Linked DNA regions of Homo sapiens: all the other regions are linked to region 6. Evidence: promoter capture Hi-C in human tissues and cell types (Jung and others, 2019). All regions are on one chromosome and are shown on one strand. The core of a region is centred on a gene start or on the middle of the fragment in contact, and the rest is flanking DNA. Distances in the headings are between cores, read along the strand shown. Region 1 overlaps KCNG2 (potassium voltage-gated channel modifier subfamily G member 2). Region 2 overlaps NFATC1 (nuclear factor of activated T cells 1). Region 3 overlaps NFATC1 (nuclear factor of activated T cells 1). Region 4 overlaps SLC66A2 (solute carrier family 66 member 2). Region 5 overlaps SLC66A2 (solute carrier family 66 member 2). Region 6 holds the start of CTDP1 (CTD phosphatase subunit 1). Region 7 overlaps NFATC1 (nuclear factor of activated T cells 1).

Region 1 (3,610 bases), core at 181-2,680, 200 kb after region 6:
TAAAGACATAAAAAGCACAGCACATCACGGCCAACTGAGGTTTTTCTCAGGAAAGCAAGCTTGGTTCGATACTCAAAACCAACCCATGTAATTCACAATATTAATGCACCAAAGAAAAAATGCCAGCTGTTCATCTCAACAGATGTAGAAAAAGCGTTTGACTAAATTCAGTATCCATTCATGATTTTTAAAACAGCACTTTCAGCAATTTAGGAATAGAAGGGAATTTCCTTTTCCTGATAGAGAACATCTACCAAAAAAACCCTACAGCTAACAACATACATAGCAAAAGACTGAATGTTTTCCCGTTAAGATTGGGACCAACCCAAGGATGCCTGCTCCCCACTCCTCTTCAGCACCTGTTGGCAGTCCTAGAGAGAGCAGTGAAGCAAGGAAAGTAGACGTCGTACTATTGGAAAGCAAGAGAATAGAACTGCATATGTAGAAACACGCTGTCCAATTGGAAAGCAAGAGAATAGAACTGCCTATGTAGAAACACACCATATGATTGGAAAGCAAGAGAATAGGACTGCCTATGTAGAAACACGCCGTACGATTGGAAAGCAAGAGAATAGGACTGCCTATGTAGAAACACGCCGTACGATTGGAAAGCAAGAGAACAGGACTGCCTATGTAGAAACACGCCGTATGATTGGAAAGCAAGAGAACAGAACTGCCTATGTAGAAATTCCCAGGAAACCCACAACAAAGCTTAAGAAAATTAAGGGAGTTGCTAGCAGTGAACTATTGGAATTCAAATTTTTTAAAGTTCATTAATAGCACCAAAAACCATGAATTGCTTACATGCAAGTCTCACAGCCTAGGTCCAGGATCCATCTACGTGCTGATAATTACAGCTAAATACAGCTGATAATTACTGATAAAGACTGAAATCAACGAAGGCCTGCAGTGCTCACGCGCTGAAGACTCGGTGTGACTAAGATGTCCACCCTCCCCATAGTCCATCTCCAGATTCAGTGAAATCCCATTCAGAATCCCATTTTCTGCAATATTTACAAGCTGATTGTAACATCTTTATGGAAAGGCCTAGGAACCGTTTTGAAAAAGCAGCAGTTGGAACTGACACTGCCTGCTTTCACGATTTGTTCTGAAGCCACAGCAGGACAGTGTGGGGAAAGGACAGGCGTGGGGTCGTGGACACAGTCCAGGAATAGAACCACATGAATGGGGCCAGCCGGCGTTTGGCAAAGTGAAAAGGCCGGGCACGGAGAAAGAATCGTCTTTTCAACAAATGGGGCTACAACAACTGAACTCCCATATTTTAAAAAAACACAACCCATGCCTTACGTTTTATACAAAAATTCAACTCAAGGTGGACCGTGGCCCTAAACATATAACATTTAAAACTATAAACTTGTAGAAGAAAACATAGAGGTGGCCTTGCCAATGGAGAGTAAGGAAGGAGTTCCCAGACGTGGCGTCAGATACGCGATTCATGAAATATGAAAATGGATAGGCTTCACTTCATTAGAATCTAAAACTCCTGGCCTAGTTGGGGTCTCAGGCCTGTAACCCTAACACTGAGAGGCCGAGGTGGGAAGATCACTTCAGCCCAGGAGTTCACGACCAGCCTGGGCAATATAGCAAGACCCTCATCTCTATTAAAAAAATTCTTTTGACTTTTGTCCACAAAAGACTGTTAAGAGAATGAAAAAACAAGCCTCAGACTGGGAGAAAATATTTGTAAATCACATATCTAACAAAGGACTTGTAATTAAGCTATATAAAGAACTGTATAAACTCAACTGTAAGAAAATAACCTGATTTTAAAAGGGACAAAGTTTTGAACAGACACTTCACCAAAGAAGACACGCCTATGGCAAATACAGCGCTGAACTGTTATTAGGGAAATACAGAGTTAAGCCACAGGAGCTGTCACTCACATGTTAGAAGGGCCCTGATCTAAAAACCAGCCGAGAGCAGCAAGCTCAAAGGAGGGTGCGCGGCCGGCAAGGCTCAGGACCTGCAGGCCATGGAGTGGCGAGGCTGCCATGGAGTGGCGAGGCTGCCGTGGAGCGCGGAGGCCGGGTACACCTGCGCGTGGAGCGCGGAGGCCGGGTACACCTGCGCGTGGAGCGCGGAGGCCGGGTACACCTGCGCGTGGAGCGCGGAGGCCGGGTACACCTGCGCGTGGAGCGCGGAGGCCGGGTACATCTGCGCGTGGCACGCGGAGGCCGGGTACACCTGCGCTCATCGCACACCAGCGCCCACGCCCAGGACGTACTCGCGGGAAGGACAGCGTGTGTCACGTACAGAGCGAGTGTTCAGCCGGCTTTATTCAGCACGGCCTAGCCCGGAAGCAGCCGACACGGACCGCGACGGCCGGTGCCAGATCAATCCCGGTGCATCCACGGTGCGCGGTGAAAAGCAGCAAAGGGTGGGTGCCCGGGACAGCACGAATGGGCTCGCAGGGCCTGACGCGGGAGAGGCCAGGCCAGGAAGCCACGCTGCGATCCCGTCTATGGGATACCTGGGAAAGCCAGGGGTTGGGGGCCAAGACTGGGTGGGCGGGGTCCGGCTGTGAGGCAGGGAACGGCGGGGGGAAGCTGGGGGAGCTGTCCTGCGTCTTTGCGCTGCGTTTTCGCGGTAGTGGTGGTTCCAGGACCGTGATTTGTCCAGACCCATAAAGCTGAGCTCTGATGAGCGAGCAGGTCCTTTTGCATAAATCTTTGGGCTCATTTCTGACGTTCCCTGACAACTCCCCAAAATAGAATTTCTAGGTCAAAGTGCACACAGTCTTTGAAGGCTTTTAAAATATATTAGTGCAGAGTTTTACGAGTTTATACCCTGCCCCGCCTGGACCACCCTGGGCCCCAGAACCTTGGCTGTGGCCGTGACCCAGGGGACACTTGTCTGGTGGGGACAGGGCTGAATTTGTGTGGCTGCTTGGGGACCAACTCAGCAGCTTCTAGTGAACGATGAGGAGGGGCCTGTCTGGCAAAGGTGAAGACATGTCTGTCTGGTAAAGGTGAGGATGTGCTTATATGTCTTAGAAGCCAGCTGTTCCACTTCCAGGTACCCTGGGTAAACGCTGGCCGGTGAGCACACAGCGTTCCCAGCAGGCATGTTTTCGTTTTTGCTTTGGTGATAGTGGATGATGCCGTTTACAGGGCCCGTCATGGCGGCTGCAGCCCCTTCTGCCATTTAGCACAGACTTGCACCGGCGTCCCCACCGGCACGTCCACGAGGGCTCCATGCAGCCCGGCCCACTGACCCCCAACTCGGGTGTGCCTGGGTGGGGACCGTCCCCCGCCCCCGTCTAGCCAGTCCCCACGTCCTGACGTTTCTATCCCAACCCCCGCCCTGCCATCTTTTCTTCTCCCAGTGCCTCCCGGAGGCTGGGCCCTCTTCTCCCACCAGCCTCCCGCCTGCAATTTCCGTGGCACAGGCCGACCTCTCTCTGCCAGCACGAAGCCAGAGCTCAGCTCCCCAGCACAGCACAGAAGCTGCAGGGGCTCCGTCCCCATGCCCCTCCCCATGCCCCATGTCCCTGTTCTCAGCCCTCCTCCCGCCCCTCCCTGTGGGCCCCACACCTGCACCCCCAAGAGAATTCGCCCCATCTAGGTCCCACCTAATGACACACACTCCC
Region 2 (4,014 bases), core at 958-3,457, 250 kb before region 6:
TCTGTGCGGTGGAGGCTGGACGGCTGGCCTCTGTGTGGTGTGGGGGCTGGATGGCTGGCCTCTGTGCAGTGGGTGGGGTTGGGGGGGTGCTGGACGGCTGGCCTCTGTGCAGTGGGTGGGGGGGTGCTGGACGGCTGGTCTTTGTGCAGTGAGGGGGCTGGACAACTGCCCTCTGTGCAGGGGTCGGGGGGAGCTGGATGGCTGGCCTCTGTGGGGTGGGTGTAGGGGGAGCTGGACGGCTGGCCTCTGTGCAGTGAGTCGGGGAGGGGGGTGGCTAGACAGCTGGCCTCTGTGTGGTGGCAGGGCTGGACAGCTGGCCTCTGTGCAGTGGGTGGCGGGGGGGTGCTGGACGGCTGGCCTCTATGTAGTCGGGGAGGCTGGATGACTGGCCTCTGTGCAGTGGGGGCAGGCGCTGGATGACTGGCCTCTATGCAGTGGGTCGGGGGGCCTGGACAGCTGGCCTCTGTGCGGTGGGTTGGGGGGGCCTGGACGTCTGGCTTCTGTGCGGTGCGGGGGCCGGCCTCGGGCCGGTGGGCAGGCTGGAAGGTCAGCCAGGCCCTGTGGTGTCTTTAGTGAGAAACAGGAAATAAATCAAGGGGATGTTGTAGAAGTTTTACCGCTGCTGGTTTAGAAGTGTTTGTTTTTATTATTTGTATATAATGTGTTGTTTTCAGTCTTGCACTGGTGTTTTTAACTATCGTGTAAAGATGCAAACAGCAGGCCAGAAAACTGCCTTGATATATCACATTGGCAAAGACCAAGCGCACCCCGGACCCTAGTGGGTGAGCCGGACCCATTGGCAGTGGCCTTTGTGGTGCCTCCAGGGAGCCTCACGATGCTCACGCCTCTGACCAGTGGTTCTGCGCTCAGGGCATGACCGGAGATGTGGTCTGGGAGTTGGTTGTGTGGATGTTTGCGTTGCCAGCGTTTACAACAACAGAGGGGAACAGCCCACAGCCCAGCAGTACAATGAGGATGGTCCTTGTGATAAATGGGATGCTGTGATTAGATTGTTTCTGAATAAGCTAAAATGCTCAAAATGTGATCTTTCTTTTATAAAAAGGCCAGGTATGGTGATACGTGCCTGTAACCCCAGCACTTTGGGAGGCTGAGGTGGGAGGATCCCTTGAGCCCAGGAGTTGGAGAATGCAGTGAGCTGTGATCACACCCTCTAGCCTAGGCAGCAGAGCGAGACCTTGTTCTAAGAAATAAAAAGAGAAAAAGAAAAGACAAAGTACCAAATTATGTGTCTCATTTTCTTAAGATGTATCATTTTGTAAAAATGTTTATAGAAATACACCCAGTGGGCTGGGCACAGTGGCTCACGCCTGTAATCCCAGCACTTTGGGAGGCTGAAGCGGGCGGATCACCTGAGGTCAGGAGTTCGAGACCAGCCTGGCCAACATGGTGAAACTGTGTCTCTACTAAAAATACAAAAAATTAGCCGGTGTGGTGGTGGGCACCTGTACTCCCAGCTACTCTGGAGGCTGAGGCAGGAGCATTGCTTGAACCTGGGAGGCGGAGGCTGCAGTGAGCCGAGATGGCTCCACTGCACTCCAGCCTGGGCCACAGAGCGGGACTCCGTCTCAAAAAAAAAAAAAAAAAAAATGGAGAGAGAGAGAAACAGAGAAAAACACCCTTTGGCTCTGTGGGCGTCGGTCACCGTCCAGACCGGGTGGACGTTCGTCGGTCACCATCCAGACCAGGTGGATGTTGGATGCAAATTTCACCCGAGCTTTTTTTTTTATTTTTTCAGTTGTGTTGAGTGTCACTTTTTTAAAAAATTGACTTATGTTGAAGATGAGTTTGAAGTTGTTGGAATTATCTCAGTCCTGAGCTTAGGGCTTCAGCAAGCGAGTTGCCGTTCCGGGGGATGGGCTGGTCAGAGACCCCCGACTGAAGCACGCCTGCCCGAGGCTGCCCCAGGCGTCGTCCCCCAGAAGGAAGCACGCGGAGTGGAGTGGGGTGGAGAGCAGGCAGCAGCGGTCCCGTCTCCGCAGCAGTGCAGGCTCCTTTCCCGCTCATTTGGGCTCTTTTGTCTGAACCAGAGACACAGATTTGTAGAGCTGCCAAATTCATGCTGAAAATTTCTAACCAAAACCAATCATCTTAATTGTCTGGATTATGATATTTATTTTGTAAACCATTCTTGCTGTAAGCCATGCACACACTGTGTCACTAAATCTGCAAATGATTCCAGAGCCAAATGCAGTCCTGCACCGCGGCGTCGGGTCAACGGCGGACTTCACCTATGAGGGTTCTCGTGAGATCGTGAGAGCGTAGTTTTACTGCATCTTTTCCATGTTTAAATGTGTTTAGATTCACAAACTGTGACCGCTGTGGGGCAGTCACCCACGGTGTTCAGTGCAGCCACATGCCGTGCAGACGTGTACTGGGGAGCCGTGGGCCACGCCACGTGGCTAGGGTGTGCACTGGACACACCGAGTCGGTTCACACGAGTTCCCACGACGACAAAATGGCCTAAGGACGCGTTTTTCAGAATGTGTCCTTGTCATAAAGTGACACGTGGCTGCGTTTACACAAACTTATTCTTATGTAATAGTCAGCTGCAGAGTGGTTTAGACTGCCTTATCTTTAGGAAATGTGTCTGCCTTTAACCAGACCAGCGGTGGGGGGAGGCGGCTTTTCTTTTCTTCTTTCCTCCTCTCTCCTCTCTCTCGCTGTCTCTTCTCTGTCTCTTAACTTTCCTGGGAATCCAGTGAGCCCAGTTTTTTCACTGTGAATTTTGTTTTTGGTTTGTTTGTTTTGAGATGGAGTCTCACTCTGTTGCCCAGGCTGGATTGCAGTGGTGCAATTTCGGCTCACTGCAGCCTCCGCCTCCCAGGTTCAAGCAATTCTCCTGCTTCACCCTCCCAAGTGGCTAGGATTACAGGCACTCGCCACCATGCCCAGCTAATTTTTGTATTTTTAGTGGAGACGGGGTTTCACCCTGTTGGCCAGGATGGTCTTGGTCTCCTGACCTCAGGTGATCTGTCTGCCTCGGCCTCCCAAAGTGCTGGGATTACAGGCATGAGCCACCACGCCCGGCCATGAATTTTGTTTTTCATTTGTTTCTTTTTCAATTCATAGCAAAAGATAGGTGCAAGGTGCCTGAGACGGGCACCGCCTCGCATCATCTGCGACTTTGTTTGGTGCCTGCCTGTCCAGGAGCAGGTGTGGCCACTGCAGAGGGGCCCTTCATTGCCCAGCCCTGCAGCTGCCCCCTCTCCCTTCCCCAGAAACTCACAGCTGGCCGCGAGCTCTGTGCAGAGAAGTCTTTCTCTGGAGGCTCTTGTCCTTCCTGTGTGGAGGCCTGGGTCCAGCCGCCTTTCCTTCTGCCTGGCAGCGTTAGCTGATACTGGGTGTCCATGCTGATCACCTCACGTGGGAAACAGCTCTGACAGTACAGCCCATGAAGCTGCGTCTTGGAGATTCCTCTGTCAGGGAAGCTGTCGTGGCTGAGTTGGGGTCCAGCAGGCACCCGCAGGGCCCAAAACCCCACAGAGCGGAGGTGGGTGGTGAGCCTGCCAGGTGCATCTTTGGATAAATCCATTTCTGAGTTTTCAAATTACTATGAAGCTTCCAATGTCACAAAATATGTAGTCTTGTTCTTGCTAAGGAACATTTTAGGTGTTTGTATTTTTAAAAATTACGTAGTTGATTCCATTCAAGCTGCCTCCTGGGCTTTTTCCTCTTTAAACGAGTCTTCTATTCTGCCCATCGTTTTTAGTTTGTTTGTTTTGAGACAGAGTCTTGCCCTGTCGCCCAGGCTGAAGCACATGCGATCTTGGCTCACTGCCATCTCAACCTCCCCTGGCTCAGGCGATCCTCCCCGCTCAGCCTCCTGTGTGGCTGGGATCCTCCCCACTCAGCCTCCTGTGTGGCTGGGATCACAGATGTGCACCACCACGTCCTGCTCATGTTTTTATTTTTTGTTTCGTAGAGATGGGGTCTCTCCATGTTGCCCAGGCTGGTCTCGAACTCCTGAGCTCAAGTGATCTGTTCCCCTTGGCC
Region 3 (3,739 bases), core at 346-2,845, 180 kb before region 6:
TTTGGAGGGGGATGGGGGGGGGGGAATCTCATTTCAGAGTCGCTACAATGCATTAGTTGTCATCTCCAGTTGTAAACCAAAAAATTATAGTACATGCAAGAAAACATGAAAATATGTCCCATCCACAGGAAGAAAAATCTGTAGCCCCTGAGAGGGCTCAGGTATTAGACCAGCAAAGGCTTTAAATCAGCTGCAATAAATATGCTCAAAGAACTGAAAGAAATTGTATTTAAAAAATTACAGGGGAGTGTGGCAAATATATCTTACCAGATAGAGAATATCCATAATGAGATTTTTAAAAAAAAAAAAAAAGAAGCCAAATAGAAATTACACAGTTGAAAAGTAAATGAAAAATGCATTAGAGAGGCTGAACAACAGATTTGAGCTGGCAGAGAAAAAGAATCAAACGTAAAAATCAACAGATTATTTAGACTGAGGAACAGAAAGAAGAAAGAATCAATAAAAATGAACAAAGCCTCAGAGCATGTGAGATGCTGTAAACACATATACACATGCATAATGAGTTATAGAAAGAGATGATTAGAAGAAATACGTGAAGAAATAATGGCCCCAAACTTCCTAAATTTGATGGAAAACATTATTCAGTGCATCCAAATGGTTCACAAAATTCAAATGGGATAAATTAAAAGCAGCTCACACACAGACATAAACCAAACTGTTGAAAGTCAAAGGGAGAGACAATCCCGAAAGCAGTGAGAGGAAAACAGCTTCTCAGTACGTGGGATGCTCAGCAGGATTAACAGCCAGCTGCTTATTGTGAATCGTGGATGTCGGAGGACAGTGGGACGGCGCATTCAAAATGCTGAAAGAAAACCACTGTCAACCAAGAATTCTATATCTAGTAAAACTCATCTTTAGAGATGAAGAAACAAAGCTGTGCTCAGATAAACAAGACACACAGAATTTGTTGCCAACAGACCTGACCTACAGGACATATTAAAGGGAGTCCTTCAGGCTGAGGTAAGAAGCACTGGTGAGAGTAATTACATAGGTGAATTAAAAAGACAGCACAAACATGTTTTAAACTTTTCTTCTCTGAACTGATGTAAAAGGAAACTGCATAAGACACGATTGCAAACCTGTGCTGATAACAATGTGCTTATAACAATTTGTGTGACAGTAGCACAAAGGAAGGGGTGGGGAAGGAAGTTACAGCAAAGCAAAGTCTTTACATATTATTAGAACTCAGTATTCATCTGAAATAGACTGTTTTGACTAAGATGCTTGTTGTAATCTCCAGAGGAACCACTAAGAAAATATATATGTGTGTGAGTGTGTCACACACACACATAAAATGTCAAAAAATGCACTTAAATGATACACTAGAAAATATGTGTGTAACACAAAATAAGCCAGTAATGAAGGAACATAGAAACAATGACAACAGCAAAAGTTACACAAGACATGTAGAGAACAAATAGCAAAATGGAAAACATAATCCTACCGTATCAATAATCACATTAAATGTCAGTGGAATAAACACCCCAATAAAAAGGTAGATGTTGTCAGACTGGATGTTAAAGACAGAATGAAACAGGGTACAACCATATGCTGTCTAAAAAATACATATTTTAGATTTAAAGACACAAATAGGTTGAAAGTAAAATGATAAAGAGATACTGTGCAATAGTAATCAAAAGAGATATGGAGATAATGGAAAAAATACATACTTCAGATTTAAAGACACAAATAGGTTGAAAGTGAAAGGATGAAAAAGATAGGCAGAGTTAATGTAGAAATTTGGAGTAGCTACACTAATATCAGACAAATTAAACTCTAAGATAAAAATATTACTAGAAACAATGAACTGTCAGTAGTCATGTTCTCTTTGATCTTAAACCTGATACATTGAACAGGAAGATATAAACACATTTGCACATAACAGAGCCCCATAATACATGAAACAAGAACTGACAGAATTAAAGGGAGAAATACATAGTTGAAAAATAATAGCTGGAGACCAGTATATCACTCTTAATGGATAGAACAACTAGACAGAAAATCAAAAGGATATAAAACACTTAAGACTATCAACCAACTTTACAAGACATCTGTAGGACACTCTACAGAGTGCACATAGGATAGACTTCCTACTATGCCATAAAACAAGCCTTAATAAATTTCAAAATATTCTGATTGCAATGGATATCAATTGAAAATCAACAACAGATATTTCCACAAATATTTGGAAACTAAACAACACATTTCTAAATAATTAATGAGTGAAGTTAGAAAGTATAAGGGAAATTGGAAAATATTTTGAACTAAATGCAAATGAAAACACAACATATCAAAATTTGTGGGATGCAGGTAAGGCAGTGCTTAGAGGGAAATTTATAGCTTTAAATGCCTATATGAGGAATAAGATGGATTTCAAATCAATAATCTAAGCTTTTTCCTTAAAAATGTTGAAAAAGGAGAGAAAAAACCCAAGGCAAGTGGAAAAAAGGAAATGCTGAGGATGAGAAGAAAAAGCAATGAAATAGAAACATGAGAAAAATCAATAAAACCAAAGTTAGTTATTTGAAAAAACAACAAAATTGACAAAACTTTAATGAGTTTTTCTAACAAGAAAAATTAGGAATGAAAGAGGGGACATTGCTACTGACCCTGCAAAAATCAAAAGGTTATAAGGGAATACTATAACCTTATGCCAACAGATTAAACAACCTGGATGAAATGGAAACATTCTTAGACACGAATTACCTAAACTGACTCAGGAAGAAACAGAAAAGTATAATAGACCTATAGCAGGGAAATAAAAGAAATTAATAATTTAACATATTCTCACAAAGAAAAGCCCAGACCCAGAGAGCTTTACTGGTTAATTTTATTAAACATTACAAGAATAATACCAGTGCCAATACTCCACAAACTCTTCAGAAAATGAAGAAGGAACACTTCTAATACTGAAGCCAGTATAGCCCTAATACCAAAATCAAAAGTATCGTAAGAAAAACTATAGAAAAATATTCTTTATGAACACAGGAGCAAAAATCCACAACAAAATATTATCAAACTGAATCCAACAACATAAAAAAAAGATTTTACACCATGACCAAGTGGGATTTATCCCAGTAATGCAAGGTTGGTTTAGCATCAGAAAATGAAGTCATGTGATGTACCATATTAATAGAAAAAGGACAGAAACCACGTGATCATTTCAATAAATGCAAGAAAAAAAGCATTTAACAAAATCCAACACCAACTTATGATAAAATCTCTTGACAAACTTAGAACACAAGGGAACTTCTTAACCTGATCAAAGTCATACACAGAAAAAAAAACAGTGATCATCACACTGAATCGTCCAAGACGGAGGACCTTCTTTTCCCCTAGGATGAGGAAGGATGCAGAGGTGGCCACTTTCACTGCTGCTACTCAGCCTTGTACTGGAGGTTCTAGCCAGTGTAGCCAGGTAAGAAACAGAAATAAAAGGCAACCGGAATGGACAGGAAAAAGTAAAATTGTCTTTATTGGAAGAAAACGTGATTCTATATGTAGAAAATCCTGAGAAATCTGCCTACACCCCACCCCCCCTCCCCCCGCCAAAAAGGTAAAGGAAAACCCACTGTTAAAACTACCAAACAAGTGCAGCAAGGTCATCAGATGTGAGACCAGGGTACAAATAAATTATGTCTATATGCAAGGAATAATCCAAAAATGAAATCAAGGAAAAATTCCTATCTACGATATAGCATTAAAAAGAATAAAATAT
Region 4 (3,641 bases), core at 625-3,124, 220 kb after region 6:
TCTGGGCAGAGGCCAGGACCACAGCCAGATCCTTCCCTCTGCCCAAGGCCAACTCAGGATCCACAAATGGTTTATTGATTCCAAGTCGCCACACAGGGTACATTCAGCAGTCACTGCGCCTGCAGTCGGCGACAGTTTAATGTGAGGCAATTACCGCTACAGACATCTTGCTTCATCTTAAAAAAATAAAAATTTTCAAAGCATCTCACAGGCCAAAGAGCTAAGCAGGACCCTCACTCAGACATTCAAGAGTGTTTCCGAGGAAAACTCGAGGAGGAGGCAGCGTGGAACATCTTCCCATGGCCACGGCCCCGGCACAGAGCTCAGATGCCTGCGGGAAGCGGCCCCTCCACCTGCGGAAGGGAAGACGATGCCTGTTGGAGCCGCACGGAAGCATCCAGAACTCTGAGGCCTGGGGGCCGGCTGCGGTCAGTGCAAGGCTGCTGACATGGTGTGACCTCTTGCAACGGGGTGGGGGCAGAGCGTGCGGTGACAAGGGTCAGACTGGCGGCTCCCACTGCAGCCAGAAGTGAGGGAGCCAGCACACGGGGGTGGGCAGTGGACAGGACAGGATGCGGCAGGCCCCAGTACCCCCCACTCAGGAATTTGCTTCAGGCCAAAAGCCCAGGGCAGCAGGGTAAGGCGCCATCGGCCAGGACCTGCACGGCAGGGGCAGCCCCCTCCACTCCCTGGACCCGAGACCGTCTCTCCTGGAAGATGGACATCAAAACTGCATCCGGAGGTGCAGTCTGCACCCAGAAGGAAGGGGATCTCCGCCAGCAGAGCCCAAGAGTGGCGTGCAGACTGCATGTGCACAGCCTCAGCCCGGCCCCCTCAGCCATTGCCCATGAGGGCCTCCACGTTGTCTGATGGTCGCTGGCATCTGCCACGTCCCCAAGGACTCGAGGAGAACCAGAGGCTGACAAGAGCAGCATGAGCTAGCCCTGGCGATGCTCAGCCGGGCTGGACACAGCGGATCCACAAGGCGTTCAGGCCTCGCAGCCACTCCAAAGGCCCAGGAAACACCGACTGTCAGAAAACCCGGAGCACGGTGACCCTGCGTCCGCACAGCCGCCTTTCCGTGTGTACCAGGCAGAGAAAGCCCCAGCCCTCCCCCGTGCCAGACCCCTGGGTAGCAGAGGCCACCCCAGTCCAAGCAGGGTGTCTGGCCAGGGTGTCACGGGGTCGAGGGCTCCGCTCACAGGCCTTACAGGGTCTCCTGCGGTCACCCCAGCTTCAAGGTTCGCGGCTGCTGGCCCGTGTGTCCACCTGGAGCAGGTTCCTGCAGGCCGCCCAATGTGTACCTTGGGCTCAGACGGTGTTTCATAAGAGGAAATGGGGAAAACACTTGCTTTTTATGTCATCCTAAAAACATCCAAAACCCTCGGGGCCAGATCAACCCTGGCTGTCCCCGCTGAGCACAAACAGCGTCCCAGCCCCACCCCCACTGCCCACCCTGAGACACCCCACAGAGGCTGATGGAGACCCCAATGCCCATGCCCCATCTCTGCCACACCTGCAGGGGCCACAGCACCCACCCTCCCCGCGGGGAGGTCAGGGCCCACCAGTGCCCGCGGCTGGCGGTCCCACATCCTCGTCCTCCCCACTGTCAGAGGGCCTTGGTGCCAGTGGGGTGCACGGCGTGGGGCGCCGGCTTCTGGGGGTGGCGGGCGAAGGCGTAGGCCTGCCCCAGGATGGCCAGGTCCACCAGCACCTGCAGCAGGCCGCACACGGAGAACTGCAGAGGGGCACCCTTCAGCAGGAAGTAGGCCGTCTTGAAGGCGTCACCACTGGTCCACATGAGCACCATCTTGATGCTGTGGAGACACAAGCAGGCGGTCAGCGGTGGGGAGGGCGGCGACCTGGGCTCAGTCAGTGGGGAGGCCTGGGGCTTAGACAGCGGGGAGACCTGGGGCTCAGGGGCACCCAGGGGGCTAAGGGGACCCCCAGGCAGTCGGCGGGGAGGCCTGGGGCTCAGGGGGCACCCAGGGGGTTGAGGGGACACCCAGTCTACAGGGTGACCCAGGGGTCAGGGACACCCCAGGGGGCCAAAGGACACACCCTGACCCCACCTGTCCCATGCAACCCCCACCCTTGACTTCTCTGTGGCCGCAAGAGCTGCCGCCTGGCTGGGGCTCTGCAAGCCCAAGAACAGTGAGACCAGCTCGAGGCTACAGGGGACAGCAGGGCGAGCAGCTGACGTCAGGGCCCCTGGTGCGCGGTGGCAATTCTGGGAGGGGCCGGGCCTGGGAGGGTGCTGAGGACGCAGATCTGTGCCCCCAGGCACACAGCCAAGTGGAGCAGAGCAGCTGCTTTTGGGTCTCTGCCGGCCTCCCTCCCTGGTGATAGATGCAAACCTTCCTTTCCTGGAGTGAACAGGGAGCAGCCGCCACCCACCATCCCAGTCCGAACACGCTTCCCCCACCGCTGTGTTCATGCCCTGGCTTGCCTAGCAGTGAACATGAGTGCTGCTGCACTTTCCCGTGTGAAATGTTTAAATCAGCGGCCGCTGACCCTTCCACAGCTCCTGAAGCCAGAGGCAGAGCCTGGGTGGGGAGCGCTGCCTGGACAGAAAGGACAGGACACAGCCCTCCCCCACCCTGGGGCGTCCGTCCCGCTCATAAGCCAGGGTGGGCACCTGGGTGCCGTAGCCGCCCTGTGTGAGAGTCTTCAGGCACAGCCATGGCCGGGTGTGTTCAGGGCTGGAGCTAGGAACCCGCAGGAGACAGCCGGCATCTGCACCCCCTCCTCTCTCCCAAGCCCACAGTGCTCGGCTCTAGAGCATCTTGTTGGCCTCTGAGAACATAAATCCGGCTTTATCATTACACCCACTGGGAAAAACCAGGAGGCTTTGGGACTGTTTCCACTTGGGTCGGTTTAGCTAAATTATAAGGCCCTGACCCACAGAGGGCATTTTCCTCCCATTTTTTATTCTCTGGGATGTGTCCTCCCCTGGATGCAGCTCCAGCTCCACAAAATCCAGTCTCTTCCACAGACAAAAAGACAGGGTGGTGCCTGGGTAGCACCGGGGGAAGGTGGTGCAGGCCCCTCGGCCTCTCACACACCCCAGCAGTCAGCCCAGGCTTCGGAATTCCCCCCTGCCTGCTTTAGGCCCAGGCAGGGCTGCACAGCTGACTTGGGGTGGGGCTCCGGGCCTGGGACCACAGCCCCGGTGCAAAGGCGCCTGCCTTTCCTGCGCTAGCCATGCACACAGCAGGCGCCCGAGCATTGCGCGGTGACCCCGCCACCGGTCACCTTCGCCCCACGCAGCTTCCGGTTGACCCCTCACACCAGGATGGGAAACAGAGCTCGCCTGACCCTCACACACGGCTGAGATTTCCCAGGATGTGCTTGCGAACAAGACTCAAGGCCTGAGAGCCACCACCACGCCTGCTTCAGGGACAGGCTACTTCCCACACAAAGCCCGTGGCTTTACTTGGCATGCAGCATCAGCTCACACTTGAGTTTCAACACTTTGTTTCTAATCAGTTGGTAACTCTGTAAACACACACACACCCACACACAGACACAATTTCTGGCTTCTCTGGAAAAAGAGCCTTTTCAGACTTTAGATTATGCATCTACAACTTCCTTCATAGATACGGGTTATCTACTTAAGAGATACTCAAGCTATTTCTTCT
Region 5 (4,054 bases), core at 142-2,641, 240 kb after region 6:
GAGCCATGTGTTCTTGATCATGCCCCCCTGAAGGAGCCTTGGTACAAATAATAACTCAACATAAAAGACGCTGACATCAGGCCAGGTGCAGTGGGCACCTACAGTCCCAGCTCTTCAGGGGCCAAGGAGGGAGGATCGCTTGAGCCCAGGAGTTGAGGCCAGCTTAGGCAACACAGAGACACTTGTCTCTTTGAAAAGAAAAAAAAAAAAAAAAAAGCTAAAATCCTTCAAATTAATCTTAATCTCTGAGAAGCCGTAGAGTGCAGGGAGTGCCCTGCACTGGATCTGACGCCTGGGTTAGGGGCGCAGCCCCCCTCGGGTTAACCACGGTCTCCTGTTCCTCAGATGTTACCAGGAAGAGACAGAGACCACTCCTAGGACATTCTGGGGATTCAACGAGTTGATCTTGAGTTCTACAACACGCCTCGGCCACGGTGCCGCTCAGTAAATCCGTACCACATCCCTCCTGCACGATGTCATTTGCTAGATGCTGTATTCTGTAGAAACCACACTCATAAGCACTCTCAGAAATTAGCAAATTAAAGGAGGCAGGTGGACATGTGCAGTCCAGGGGACATAGCGGCAGGGAAAAGGTGAACGGAGACAAACCTGCCAAGAAGCCTGCAAGGCCCGCACCTGACCTCTCCTTACAGCAGCAGGGCCAGGGCATGGGCTGCAGGGGTGGGGTGATGGGAGGCGGTGAGGTCGAGGGGGTTGGGGGTGCTGAGGGGTGAGGATAGAGGGATTGGGGGGGTTGGGGTATGGTGAGGTTAGGGGGGCTTGGGGGCATCAGAGGGCAGAGAGGCCAGGGGTGTCGGGGGCCGGCTGCCTGTGGGGCTGGCAGTGCAGTGAGGGCAGGGGTGGCCAGGCTGTGCACCTTCTCCCCATCCCCTTGGACCCTAGATCTGTGCCTCTCTTCCTGCTCCACCCTCTCTCACTCTGAGTGAGACGCTGCTCGGCATCCGAGCTGGAAAGGGGCTGCACAGGAAGCAAGGCCAGAGGAAGGATGGGCATGGTACGCGGCACCTCCCAGAACACAGCGGGGCGTGGGCTCATGTGTATTTCATGAAGAAGCCCGGCTGCAGTGAGGGGGGCTGAGCAGGATGGGCTATGGACAGGGGGGCTGTGGACGGTGAGGGGGTGGATGGGGGGGGGCCGTGGACGGGTGGGTGGAGGACGGGGGGCCATGGACAGGCGGGTGGTGGACAGGTGGGTGGTGGATGGGTGGATGGTGGACGGGCAGGCAGGGGGGCTGTGGACAGGTGGGTCATGCATGGGCAGGTGGTGGATGGGCAGGCTGTGCACGGTGGGCTGCGGACACAGGACGCCAGGTGAGGGTTTAAGAGACTTGGGAAAGCCAGGTCTAAGGTCCATCTCTGGGAGACCTATTTTAGTTTCCCCAGGAAGGAGTCAATTGGCAAATGACTAACAGAAAATCCTCACTAAACAGTTTCTGAGAAAAGAATGAACCTGGATGCTTACCTTATACCACATACGAAATTTAACTCAAAATGGATCAAAAACCTACAAATAAGACCTGAAACTAAAACTCTCAGAAGAAAACATGAGGAAACACTTCAAGACATTGGATTTGTCAATGAATTTTTAGCTGTAAAACCAAAAGCACAGGCAACAAAAGAAGAATAAAAGATAAACCGGACTTCATCGAAATCTAAAACATGGCCAGGCGCAGTGGCTCACACCTGTCATCCCAGCACCTTGGGAGGTTGAGGTGGGAGAATCACTTGAGTCCAGGAGGTCTTGAACATCATGAGATTCCATCTTTACAAAAAAAATAAAAAATTAGCAGGGTGTGGTGGTGCGCACCTGTGATCCCAGCTACTTGGGAGGCCGAAGCAGGAGGATCCCTTGAGCCCAGGAGTTCAAGGCTGTAGTGAGCCATGGCTGTGCCACTGCACTGCAGCCTGGGTGACAGAGTGGGACCTGGTCTCAAAAAAAAAAAAAAAAGGCACTGGCGAGCTTAACCGTACACGCCAAACACCCTCAATTCGTGCATTTACCACTGCCGGGCCGGCGGAGAGGCTCCCGAGGATGGCAGAGGGACAGCAGGGTGAGAGGCACGAGGCGAGGCAGCTGAGATGCGTGGTGCAGGTGGGGGCAGATTTCCAAACAGAACGTGGCCTGGTGCACAGTGGAGTATTAGCCACAAAAAGGAAGAAAGGGCAGATTCATGCAACAACACGGATGGACCTTGAAACAGGACACCAAGTGACAGAAGCCAGACACGGGAACCACACACTAATGAGTCTGTTCCCATGAAGTGTCCAGCACAGGCGAGCGCACAGACAGCAGACGAGCCGCCGTCGGGGCTGGGGGAAGACGGAACTTGGGGAAAAGAAGGAAACTGGTTCGAAGGGGTTTCTTTGGGGGTGATGAAAGGCCCCCTAATGAGACAGTGGTGATGGCCGCACAACTCTGTAAATACACTAAAAACCACCGAACTGTGCACTTTTAAATGGTGATAAAATTGTGAATTTTATGTTATGTAAATTATATCTCTAATTTGAATGTTATGTAAATTATCTCTCTAATTTGAATGCATAACGAAATAGAAAATTTTAATGTATGTGACTTGTCTTATACCAAAAGATGCAGACATATCTACTTGTTTTATTAAAAAGTATCTACTTATTACTTATTAGTAAATACTTATCCAGCATTTTCTGATGCTGAAGTTGAAAATAGTTCCTTCAACTCCAAGTCTGGGAATTAAGGTGCTGTCATTTGTATCCAGAACAATTTGAAATAAATTTAGCAGCCATCTACCATTAGCTGTCAGCTCACATGTGCTGGGGAATTGGAGCAGGTGGCGGGGAGGAGCTGGGTAAGGAAAACGCTGGCTGAGGCTGACCTGGGGTGGCTCAGACAGCGGGAAATGAGATCTCTAAGTTCAGTCAGGAGAAGTCGGCGGACACGGGGGACACCTGGTGGGCATGGTGACTCCTGATCTGTCCGGTGGAAAAGAACATTTTCTGCACTTCTGAGACATTCCTGTGTCAGGAGATTTTCATTAATAGTTTTTTAAATCAGCAAATAAGAGAGAGGCGCCTGGCAGTCCTCCCAGAAGAGCTGGCCCTATTCCGAGGGACCTGGGAGGGGAGGGCACCCCCCTTTCCAAAGCAGCCAGGCCCCCGCACTGCTGAGCCCGACAGAAATCCAAGAGGGCAGGTGGCTGTGGGAGAGGAGGGGCTCTGAGAACAAGAACAAAAGGGCAAGAACGCAATTAGGATGCACACCCGTGGTCACGCAAGGTGCCAACAGAACAGCTGACAGCCGGCAGTGCAGACTCACACGCCGTGACTTCCCGAGATGTGTTTCTAGAGAGCGGCACCAAAGATAAGGCTTGAAAACGAGGCATTCAATGCTAAACGAATGTTTCCAGGCTTGGGGGGCTCACCAGAGGCCCACCCTGGCATGCACTGAGCAGAGAACAGCTGATCCTCAGAAGCTTCCGTCGCACGGGCGTGGCTGCCCTCAACTCACAGACAGATCTCTTCCAGCACCCCCCATGGGGAGCCCTGTGGGAACAGACCAGCTCCAGTCCAACTGCTCCTGGATTAAAAAGCAATTTTACCACTTGGGGAATGTGCACCAGGAGACTGTCTCCTAATGGGTAAGGAAGATCCGATTTCTCATCAGGTCGTGTTTTCATGTCTACAGGAGCACATGAGAGAGCCTGGTGTAAGAGGATCTGATGGCCAACGTGTCCAAGGCATTGGAGCAAGAGCAACTCCATTGTGAATAGAGGCTGGCTAAGATGAGGCTGAGGCCCTCTGAGCTGCGTTCCCAGACGGTCAGGCATTCTTAATCACAGGATGAGACAGGAGGTCGGCACAAGATACAGGTCATAAAGACCTTGCTGATAAAACAGCTTGCAGTAAAGAAGCCGGACAAAACCCACCAAAACCAAGACGGCCACAAGAGTGACCTCTGGTCGTCCTCACTGCTACACTCCTACCAGCACCGTGACAGTTTACAGATGCTGTGGCAACATCAGGAAGTTACCCTATATGGTCTAAAAAGGGGAGGCATG
Region 6 (4,165 bases), core at 599-3,098:
CCATTTTTTAAAAATCCCATAAAGGCTCTCTCGTGAGCACCGCACGTTTTCCCTTGTAGTCACGAGGGTAGGGGCTGGAGAAAGCAGCAGAGATAGTCAAAAACCCACAGCTACAAAAAATGCACTCCTAAGAGCAAGTAATGGCGAGGGCTAAAAGGCACTGTGCCCCTTCTGGGCCATTCTAATTACCACATTTAAATGGTTTTGAGAAAAGAGAATTTTTATCTGAGGAACGCGAGTTCTTTTAATTATCAGGCCGAGAGAGACATTCAAATGAGGCGACAATCGCGCCCTACTACCCCTTGACCTGTGTTCACCTCTTTAAACTGCTACTGGTGGCAACAGCGCCACAAACAGCTATAAATTAACCTAATGACGCCACAATGGACACTATACCCACACTCAATAGCTGAACAACATATAGTCAGTCACTAATCAATGTTATTTCTGTAAACCAGTGAGAATTCCTCACAAACAAGTTCCTATTAGTCCACTCCCTGGCCCCCTTTTTTGCCTTTAAAATCCACTGTTAACTGCTAATCGGAGTACACATTCAGGGCGCCTTGAATTTGTGCTCAAGTGTGGCCCAAATAAACTCTCTACTTAGAGAAACTGTGTCTCCGCTCGTTTTCAGGCCGACAGTTTCCAAAATGTTAGTATTCAGCCTAACATGAGAAAAGTCACCATATAAAAGTGAGGGGGGAAAAGCAAATACAGGATAATCTCAATTGTATATAAAATTTATATACGTAAGGACAAAGATACATAGTAAAAAAAAAATTCTGGCAGGTATTAAGGCTGAAAAAATTAAAACAGTCCAGAGCGGTCTGGCTCAGGCCAGCCTGGGCCTGCCGAGTAGCTGGGACCTCAGCCACCGCGCCTGGCTAAGTATTAATGAATCTGTTTTAGAGATAGGGTCTTGCTACGTTGCGCAGGCTGGTCTCCAACTCCCAGGCTCAGGTGATCCGCCCGCCACAGCCTCCCGAAGTGCTGAGCCTCCCAAAGTGCTGAGACTACAGGCCTGGCCGCCCGCCCGCCAGCTTAATTCACGTAAATTCCAGACAAACGTAGAAAGTGGCTCCTTTAGTAAGCCACTTGCGGCTGCTGCTCATCAGGGTTCGCCTGGGGCCACTGAGACCACGCGCCGGTGCCCGCCCTCCCGCTGCGGTCCGATTTTCTGAACCAACCAGGCGCTTCCGGGCGCCTTGCCCCAGACGGGCCCACCGCCTGCGCGGGCCGAGGGCGGCGCACCTGCCCCTGCGCTTCCGCATCGAAGGTGAGGTCGGAGGAAGAGAAGACCGCAACCCCCAAGCTCCCGCGGCGTGGGGTCCGGGGGGGGACACGAGGCGGGGCCACCAGGACGCCGACAGCCTCACGTCTCTGGGCCCGCGGCGCGCAAGGCATGCCGGGACCCGTAGTCCCGCGACGTTGCGACTCACAGTGCGCGATGGGAGTGGAGGAGAGCGGCTCGCGGTGCATGCCGGAACTCGTAGTCTCGGGATGCTGGGTCTCAGCGCGTGATGGGGTAATGGCACGCAGGCCTGCGTTGAACGCTGGGACTCGTAGTCCCGCCATGCTCTGTCCGCGGTGCACGCCGGGATACGTAGTTCCGAGCGCGCCAAGACCGTCACTGGGACTGGGCGACAGCGGCCCGCGTTGCATGCCGCTGCTCCACGGTGCCGGCGCTCCGAGGAAAAGTAGGTAGGGCTCAGGAACGCAGTTCTTCACGGCCGGCACGCAGGGTTGGTCCCAGGACGGAGCCGGCTCCGGCCCCGCGCGGCGCTCGTATTTACACGCGCACGTACGCACGTACGCGGCGCCCTTGCGTGACGTCACGCGCCCTCCAGGAAGTCGGCGCGGGCTAGGCGACGGGTGGAAGCCGGTACCGAGAGGAACTACAGCGTCGCCGCCTGGGTTGTGTCGCCGCGGTAGGCGCTGCGCTCTGAGCGCAGCGCAGGCCCCGTACCGACCGCCCGCCCGCCCTCTGTCCGCGATGGAGGTGCCGGCCGCGGGTCGCGTTCCTGCCGAGGGCGCCCCGACGGCGGCTGTGGCCGAGGTGCGCTGCCCGGGGCCCGCGCCGCTGCGCCTGCTGGAGTGGAGGGTGGCGGCGGGCGCGGCCGTGCGCATCGGCTCGGTGCTGGCCGTGTTCGAGGCCGCCGCCTCCGCGCAGTCCTCCGGGGCCTCTCAGTCCCGTGTAGCCTCCGGGGGCTGCGTGCGCCCCGCGCGGCCGGAACGCAGGCTGAGGTCGGAGCGCGCGGGCGTGGTGCGGGAGCTGTGCGCGCAGCCGGGCCAGGTGGTCGCCCCAGGGTGAGTGTGCTGAGCCGGGCGGGGCCGAGGGCGGGCGGCTCCGGGGAGGGATCCTGGAGGACCCCCGGGCTGCTGCGTCCGCGGTGGGCAGGGGCGCCCCTGGTGAGGGAGCGATAAAGCGGGACGCAGGCACTGCGCTTCTCCCCTAAAACTGGATAGTCACCACCTGTGGTTTTACCAACGGGGAGCATTTTGAGATAAAAGGAAAGGGTCCTGCGTAGCGACACGAAGTTACTGTTTGGAAAAGCTATGTTTGTTTCTTTCTTTCTGCAGTGATAGTCCCCGCCCCTTCCTTTAGCTCCACCTTTGTGACTTAGGAAAACTCATGGGTGGCTGTGAGCACAAGAGTCATCAGGCAGGCTCCAGACCTGTTATTGAAATATAAACTGTTGGGTGTGTGCACATCTTTAAATTTTTGTAAACTTTGTGAAACGCAGTTGTAAAACCTGGTGCAGTTCTGTTTCGTGGCTAAGGAACGGGCGGAACCCAGGCCTGCAGCGAAGGCAGTAGCCCCGTGGTTGACCACAGTGGGCATTGTCGCAGGCTGCTTCAGGGTGACGTGGGCGTTGTGACAGACTCCACAGCTCTCAGTAGCTGTGCTCTGACCCCAGAAGGGGATATGTTTCCGTAGCACCGAAGTGTCCAGCCATGTTTGAATCTACCCTTGTGTTCTGGGATGGGCGGGCAAGTGGACACGCGTGTGCGCCTGGCTCTGGTAGTTTTGATTGTGAGAACAGAAACTCCAGGGAGAGGTGGACACTCCAGCCCGCAGTGGGCCGGGCGTGAGCTCCCTCTGGGAAAGGTGCCGCTCCTTCTGGGGATGCCACTCTCTTCCCTCCTCGGCAGCCGCGGCTCCTCGTCCCTTTGGCTTGCCCTGACCCTGTGTTTGTTGAGGATCTTCTCTGCATCTGGTTCCGCAAGAGTGAGGACTGGGACAGGAGTCTTCCCGTCACAGCCCCAGAACGTCCTGGCTCCGCTTCCTTTGGAGACAGAGCCTGGGTCCTTGACCCTCGGCACGGGCACTCACTCCTGCCCCCTGCGTGCTGGTGGGTGGGGCTGGGAGGTTCAGGGCCTTGCCTCCCAGAAAATGCCTTCACGGCTTCCTCAGTGGGCACTGGCCGTACCTGGGAGGATTGTGGAGGCAGATCCCAATGCTGGTGTATTCCCTGGACAGAAAACCCCAGGATGGAAGATCCCTACTGAGGTTTCATTCTGTTCCTCTGATTGTACAGAAAGGGCTGCTTTGGCCTAGACAGGTGAGTAACTTGGTTATGTGGCAAGTTAGTATTGAAATTCCATGTTCAGTCAGTCTAGTGAATAAAACCAACCCAGTGCATCAGTCAGTCAGCCAGCCAGGTCATGAGCTTGATGACGGGTTCCCAGCAGTCAGTAGTGTTTACAGGGAGGTGCTGTTTGAGATCTTGGGGTACCTCACAGGGCCCTTTGAGACACTGATGTGATATCATTTCTCCTCAGATGGAGCGTCTGTGTGGCACCAGGTGTCCCTCTGGTTCCAGGAGGCTCATCTCTCTGCCTCCAGTCCATGGGCGGCAGGTAAATCCTTGCCTTAGAGAAAGCCACAGACGGTGCTGCCTGGAATTTGAGGTGGCTTCTTCCCCGTTTCTGTGTACTCCTGTGGGTTTGTGTACATGGGTTTTATGAGCGTTCTGGGGAGTGTGGTGGTGGTGGTGTGACGTCAGCATTTCCGGAGGTGTTCCTGCCCGTGCAGTGGGCGTGGGTGCCATAGATCCAGGAAGGAGCGACTGGAAGGGCTTTAGTCTAAAGCCCTGTGTGCATGTGCCCTGGCAGTTCTGGTCGTCTGTTTGGAATCAGGTTCCTGCCTCGCAGTTGCATTAGC
Region 7 (3,540 bases), core at 631-3,130, 210 kb before region 6:
TTTCTCCTGCTTGTTAAACTAAGTCATATGATTATAAAAATGAAACTTTATAGATGCGACTCCCGCCAACCCTCTCCCCAGATACCAAGTGCCGCCCTCGGCAGGGATGCCTGCATCACCCCAGTCATTTAGGGTCATCAGGGGCCCGAGTAACGCTGGGGCCTGAGCACGCGGTTGGGGTCTCCGTGTCCCAGCCCCCCACCCAGCCCCGACCTCTGCGAACAGCGCCACACGTCCCATGGCTTGTGTTTCATGTGTATACTTGAAGGAGCATGAGTTTCGTAAACATGCTGCTGGCTGTTACATTAAAAACATGAGAAGGTAACGGCAGCCTCCACACGCCGCCCTCTGCTGTCTGTGCCTCCGTGCCCTTGGCTGTTCCCACCCCGGGGTCTGCGGGGGTCAGGGCCTGCCTCCTCTTCCTCAGTTGGAGTGAATTTGGGGTCTGACTGAGGGCCTCGGCCATCGTCAAATGTGACAAACACAGGCCCTCCCCAGAGACCGCGTCTCCAGGAAGCACCTGCTCCTCTGGGTTTCGCTGCAGTCACCTGAGCAGGTGCTGGGCCACCGAGCACTTCCATCACACAGTGGCTGGCGGCGGAGCCTTGGGTCGTTTTCTGAAGGTCACCAACCCTTTGGCATCAGAGCAGGCAGAGCCTTTTGCATCCCCGCCAGTCCCCTTGCCCAGGTGGCCCCGGGCAACCTCCACCCTCAGGCACCCGGTCCCAGTTCTGTTTACAGCTTCTCTTTTCCTGGCTTCTTTCCCCATATTGACAAGATTTCAGTCTTAGGTTGGTCTTGTCTGCTGTGCTGCTCTGAGGAAGCCTCTCGGCTCCTGGGTGTGCAAGAAGCCAAGGGCAGCCCCTTCCCTGTGAGCGTGCGTGTCCACACGCGTGTGCAGGTGGCACAGAGCATCCAGGGCTGTCATCAGCTGCTTCTGGACCGCCCAGGTGGCTGCTTGGGAGTTTACCGTCACGGCAGTCCTGTGCTGCCGTGGAAACGCGGGGTTGCCGTGTGGCCGCCGTGGAAACGCGGGGTTGCCGTGTGGCCGCCGTGGAAACGCGGGGTTGCCGTGTGGCCGCCGTGGCGCGGCAGCCATCGCCTGCCCGGTGCTGATTGTGCCTCCTGTGTGCCCTTCTCCTGTAGAATTCTCTGGTGGTTGAGATCCCGCCATTTCGGAATCAGAGGATAACCAGCCCCGTTCACGTCAGTTTCTACGTCTGCAACGGGAAGAGAAAGCGAAGCCAGTACCAGCGTTTCACCTACCTTCCCGCCAACGGTAACGCCATCTTTCTAACCGTAAGCCGTGAACATGAGCGCGTGGGGTGCTTTTTCTAAAGACGCAGAAACGACGTCGCCGTAAAGCAGCGTGGCGTGTTGCACATTTAACTGTGTGATGTCCCGTTAGTGAGACCGAGCCATCGATGCCCTGAAAAGGAAAGGAAAAGGGAAGCTTCGGATGCATTTTCCTTGATCCCTGTTGGGGGTGGGGGGCGGGGGTTGCATACTCAGATAGTCACGGTTATTTTGCTTCTTGCGAATGTATAACAGCCAAGGGGAAAACATGGCTCTTCTGCTCCAAAAAACTGAGGGGGTCCTGGTGTGCATTTGCACCCTAAAGCTGCTTACGGTGAAAAGGCAAATAGGTATAGCTATTTTGCAGGCACCTTTAGGAATAAACTTTGCTTTTAAGCCTGTAGTCCTGATGTGGTCTTTAAGGATGGTGAATGAGCTTTGTGCTGGGCGGACGTCCCCGAGACACTTCTCCAGGGGTAACTTCATCTCCTGGGACCACGGGCATCCAGGCTGGGGCACCTTCTCCTCAACCTGCCTGCCCCTCACCCGCCGTGGGAATGGCTCCTTTTCACTCATACAAAAAAAAAAAAAAATCATCTTACCTTTTTAACCTTTAGGGTGTTTTCTTAAAGAAAATACCATCCAGTTTGTTTCTTCAGTCCCTGAACCAGTAGAAGAGAAAGGCGTCCCCCACGCCATCCCCGGCTTCCTTTGTGGGTACAGGCCACTCCCCCCAGCTCGGAGAGGACAGAATTAGCAGTCATCCTGAATTTTACTGTATTTTGTGGGTACAGGCCACTCCCCACAGCTCGGAGGGGACAGTTAGCGGTCATCCTGAATTTTACTGTATTTTGGGTAAGCTTAGCTAACATCAATAATCTTTTTATATTGCTTTTTTTCTAAAAACTGCAGAGATTCCTGTCATCTGAGAGGGAAATTACACACTGGGCGCTAATTGCAAAAGCAGCTGCGTTCTCTTAGTAAAATCAGGGTGTTTTGGAAGGTTTCCATTTTCTCTGAATGTAAACAGCATTTGTAATAGACCAGATCCTAAGGAAGCCCTTGAATCCCCACGTTCACACCAAACTGTTGGGACTCCTTGTTTTTATCAGGCAAGCTCTGGAAAGGCCTCTCAAGATGTGGAAAATGGGGTTTTGCTGTAAAGTCGCTGTACCCTAAGAGTGTCTGTGAGACAGAGCTGCAGGGGTGATGTGCAGCCCCCAGCCCAGCCCTCGCGGGGAAGAGCCTCACGCTCTGTGACCCCCAGGATTGTGGGGAGGGCCTCATGCTCTGGGACCCCCGGGATTGTGGGGAAGAGCCTCATGCTCTGGGACCCCCGGGATTGTGGGGAAGGGCCTCACGCTCTGGGACCCCCAGGATTGTGGGGAAGAGCCTCACGCTCTGGGACCCCCGGGATTGTGGGGAAGAGCCTCACGCTCTGGGACCCCCGGGATTGTGGGGAAGGGCCTCACGCTCTGGACCCCCCTGGGGTTTACGTGGTCTGTGCCGCCCACACTTAGTGAGTCCAGCCCATTCTTGGAACAAAGTACAATATATCTTACAGAAGAAAATATTTTATCTTTTTCTGAAAATATAATGATTGAGTCCTAATTAAACTTCAAGCATGGTTGACCAGAAATTGAATGTTTTAAAGAAAACCTAGGCCTTATAGAGAAGGATTGCTTTCCAGAGCAGTGCATTAATTTTTTTCTTATTTGCTCAGCATGCGGCAGTCCCCACCGTGGGTTTGAGCAGCACTGACTTTAGCACAGATCACGTATCTCAGAGGCAGAAGGGGCGTGCGGGGAGCGTGCCTGCCCTTCACAGGTGGGAGGTGGCGGCCCCCAGGACCGTGGCCACAGCATGAAGCCGGTGGGGCTGAGCCGCTCCTGCTACCTCCAGTCCACACCCCACCTGGCAGCCGGCCGTCCTGTCCTACCAGCCACACTCCTGCCTCGATTGGCCCCGGCTCCCCTCTCAGCATTGTGCCCAGCGTGGACATCTCTCCTGCACCCCCTGCCCAGTGTCTCGGCTGCACCCTCCACCCCCCATCTGCTCCAGCATGGCTCAACGCAGGCCAGGTTCCCCAGGCTCACCCTGGGCACCAGCCTTCGCCCGTTCTCCCTCTCTTTGCCTCCGTCGTCTCTTCTCTCCTGGACGTAGCACCATAGTCCCTGGGTGACCATCCCAGGTCCCCACAAGCACACTGACCAGCCCCACCAGCCCCCAGGGGCTCCCCGGCTC

Evidence for each region. Contacts are between HindIII fragments. The study calls those that stand out against the background at their distance.
Region 1: a contact is called between a fragment that was not itself captured here and the fragment with the promoter of CTDP1 in region 6, in 5 of the 25 tissues and cell types used here (H1 embryonic stem cells, IMR-90 fibroblasts, dorsolateral prefrontal cortex and 2 more).
Region 2: a fragment that was not itself captured here is called in contact with the fragment with the promoter of CTDP1 in region 6 in 1 of the 25 tissues and cell types used here (dorsolateral prefrontal cortex).
Region 3: a contact is called between a fragment that was not itself captured here and the fragment with the promoter of CTDP1 in region 6, in 5 of the 25 tissues and cell types used here (aorta, dorsolateral prefrontal cortex, hippocampus and 2 more).
Region 4: a fragment that was not itself captured here is called in contact with the fragment with the promoter of CTDP1 in region 6 in 2 of the 25 tissues and cell types used here (mesenchymal stem cells and spleen).
Region 5: a contact is called between a fragment that was not itself captured here and the fragment with the promoter of CTDP1 in region 6, in 1 of the 25 tissues and cell types used here (dorsolateral prefrontal cortex).
Region 7: a fragment that was not itself captured here is called in contact with the fragment with the promoter of CTDP1 in region 6 in 3 of the 25 tissues and cell types used here (IMR-90 fibroblasts, mesenchymal stem cells and spleen).

The regions. Positions count from the first base shown.
Region 1 is chr18:79,880,724-79,884,333 of GRCh38, forward strand. All of the region lies in intron 3 of KCNG2 (potassium voltage-gated channel modifier subfamily G member 2), which reads left to right. Among named protein-coding and RNA genes, the nearest start is that of SLC66A2, 69 kb to the right of the region's middle. The HindIII fragment of the contact is 7,076 bases long and covers 1-3,610 here.
Region 2 is chr18:79,427,633-79,431,646 of GRCh38, forward strand. All of the region lies in intron 2 of NFATC1 (nuclear factor of activated T cells 1), which reads left to right. Among named protein-coding and RNA genes, the nearest start is that of NFATC1, 34 kb to the left of the region's middle. The HindIII fragment of the contact is 6,613 bases long and covers 1-4,014 here.
Region 3 is chr18:79,498,054-79,501,792 of GRCh38, forward strand. All of the region lies in intron 9 of NFATC1 (nuclear factor of activated T cells 1), which reads left to right. Among named protein-coding and RNA genes, the nearest start is that of NFATC1, 100 kb to the left of the region's middle. The HindIII fragment of the contact is 8,968 bases long and covers 1-3,739 here.
Region 4 is chr18:79,902,367-79,906,007 of GRCh38, forward strand. It overlaps SLC66A2 (solute carrier family 66 member 2), which reads right to left. Exons shown (of 6, transcript NM_025078.5): 6 at 54-1,817. The coding sequence ends at 1,610. Among named protein-coding and RNA genes, the nearest start is that of SLC66A2, 47 kb to the right of the region's middle. RefSeq lists an enhancer at 1,801-2,436. The HindIII fragment of the contact is 4,811 bases long and covers 1-3,641 here.
Region 5 is chr18:79,922,085-79,926,138 of GRCh38, forward strand. The region is part of intron 4 of SLC66A2 (solute carrier family 66 member 2); the gene reads right to left. Among named protein-coding and RNA genes, the nearest start is that of SLC66A2, 28 kb to the right of the region's middle. The HindIII fragment of the contact is 7,930 bases long and covers 1-4,054 here.
Region 6 is chr18:79,677,955-79,682,119 of GRCh38, forward strand. It overlaps CTDP1 (CTD phosphatase subunit 1), which reads left to right and starts at 1,849. Exons shown (of 13, transcript NM_004715.5): 1 at 1,849-2,307. The coding sequence starts at 1,994. CTDP1-DT (CTDP1 divergent transcript) reads right to left here and starts at 1,791. Exons shown (of 5, transcript NR_136643.1): 1 at 1,440-1,791. RefSeq lists enhancers at 974-1,481, 1,482-1,990, 3,606-4,114, 4,115-4,165. The HindIII fragment of the contact is 29,025 bases long and covers 1-4,165 here.
Region 7 is chr18:79,466,304-79,469,843 of GRCh38, forward strand. NFATC1 (nuclear factor of activated T cells 1) reads left to right here. Exons shown (of 10, transcript NM_001278669.2): 8 at 1,147-1,279. LOC107985162 (a long non-coding RNA gene) reads right to left here. Exons shown (of 2, transcript XR_001753518.2): 2 at 3,016-3,540. Among named protein-coding and RNA genes, the nearest start is that of NFATC1, 72 kb to the left of the region's middle. The HindIII fragment of the contact is 4,601 bases long and covers 1-3,540 here.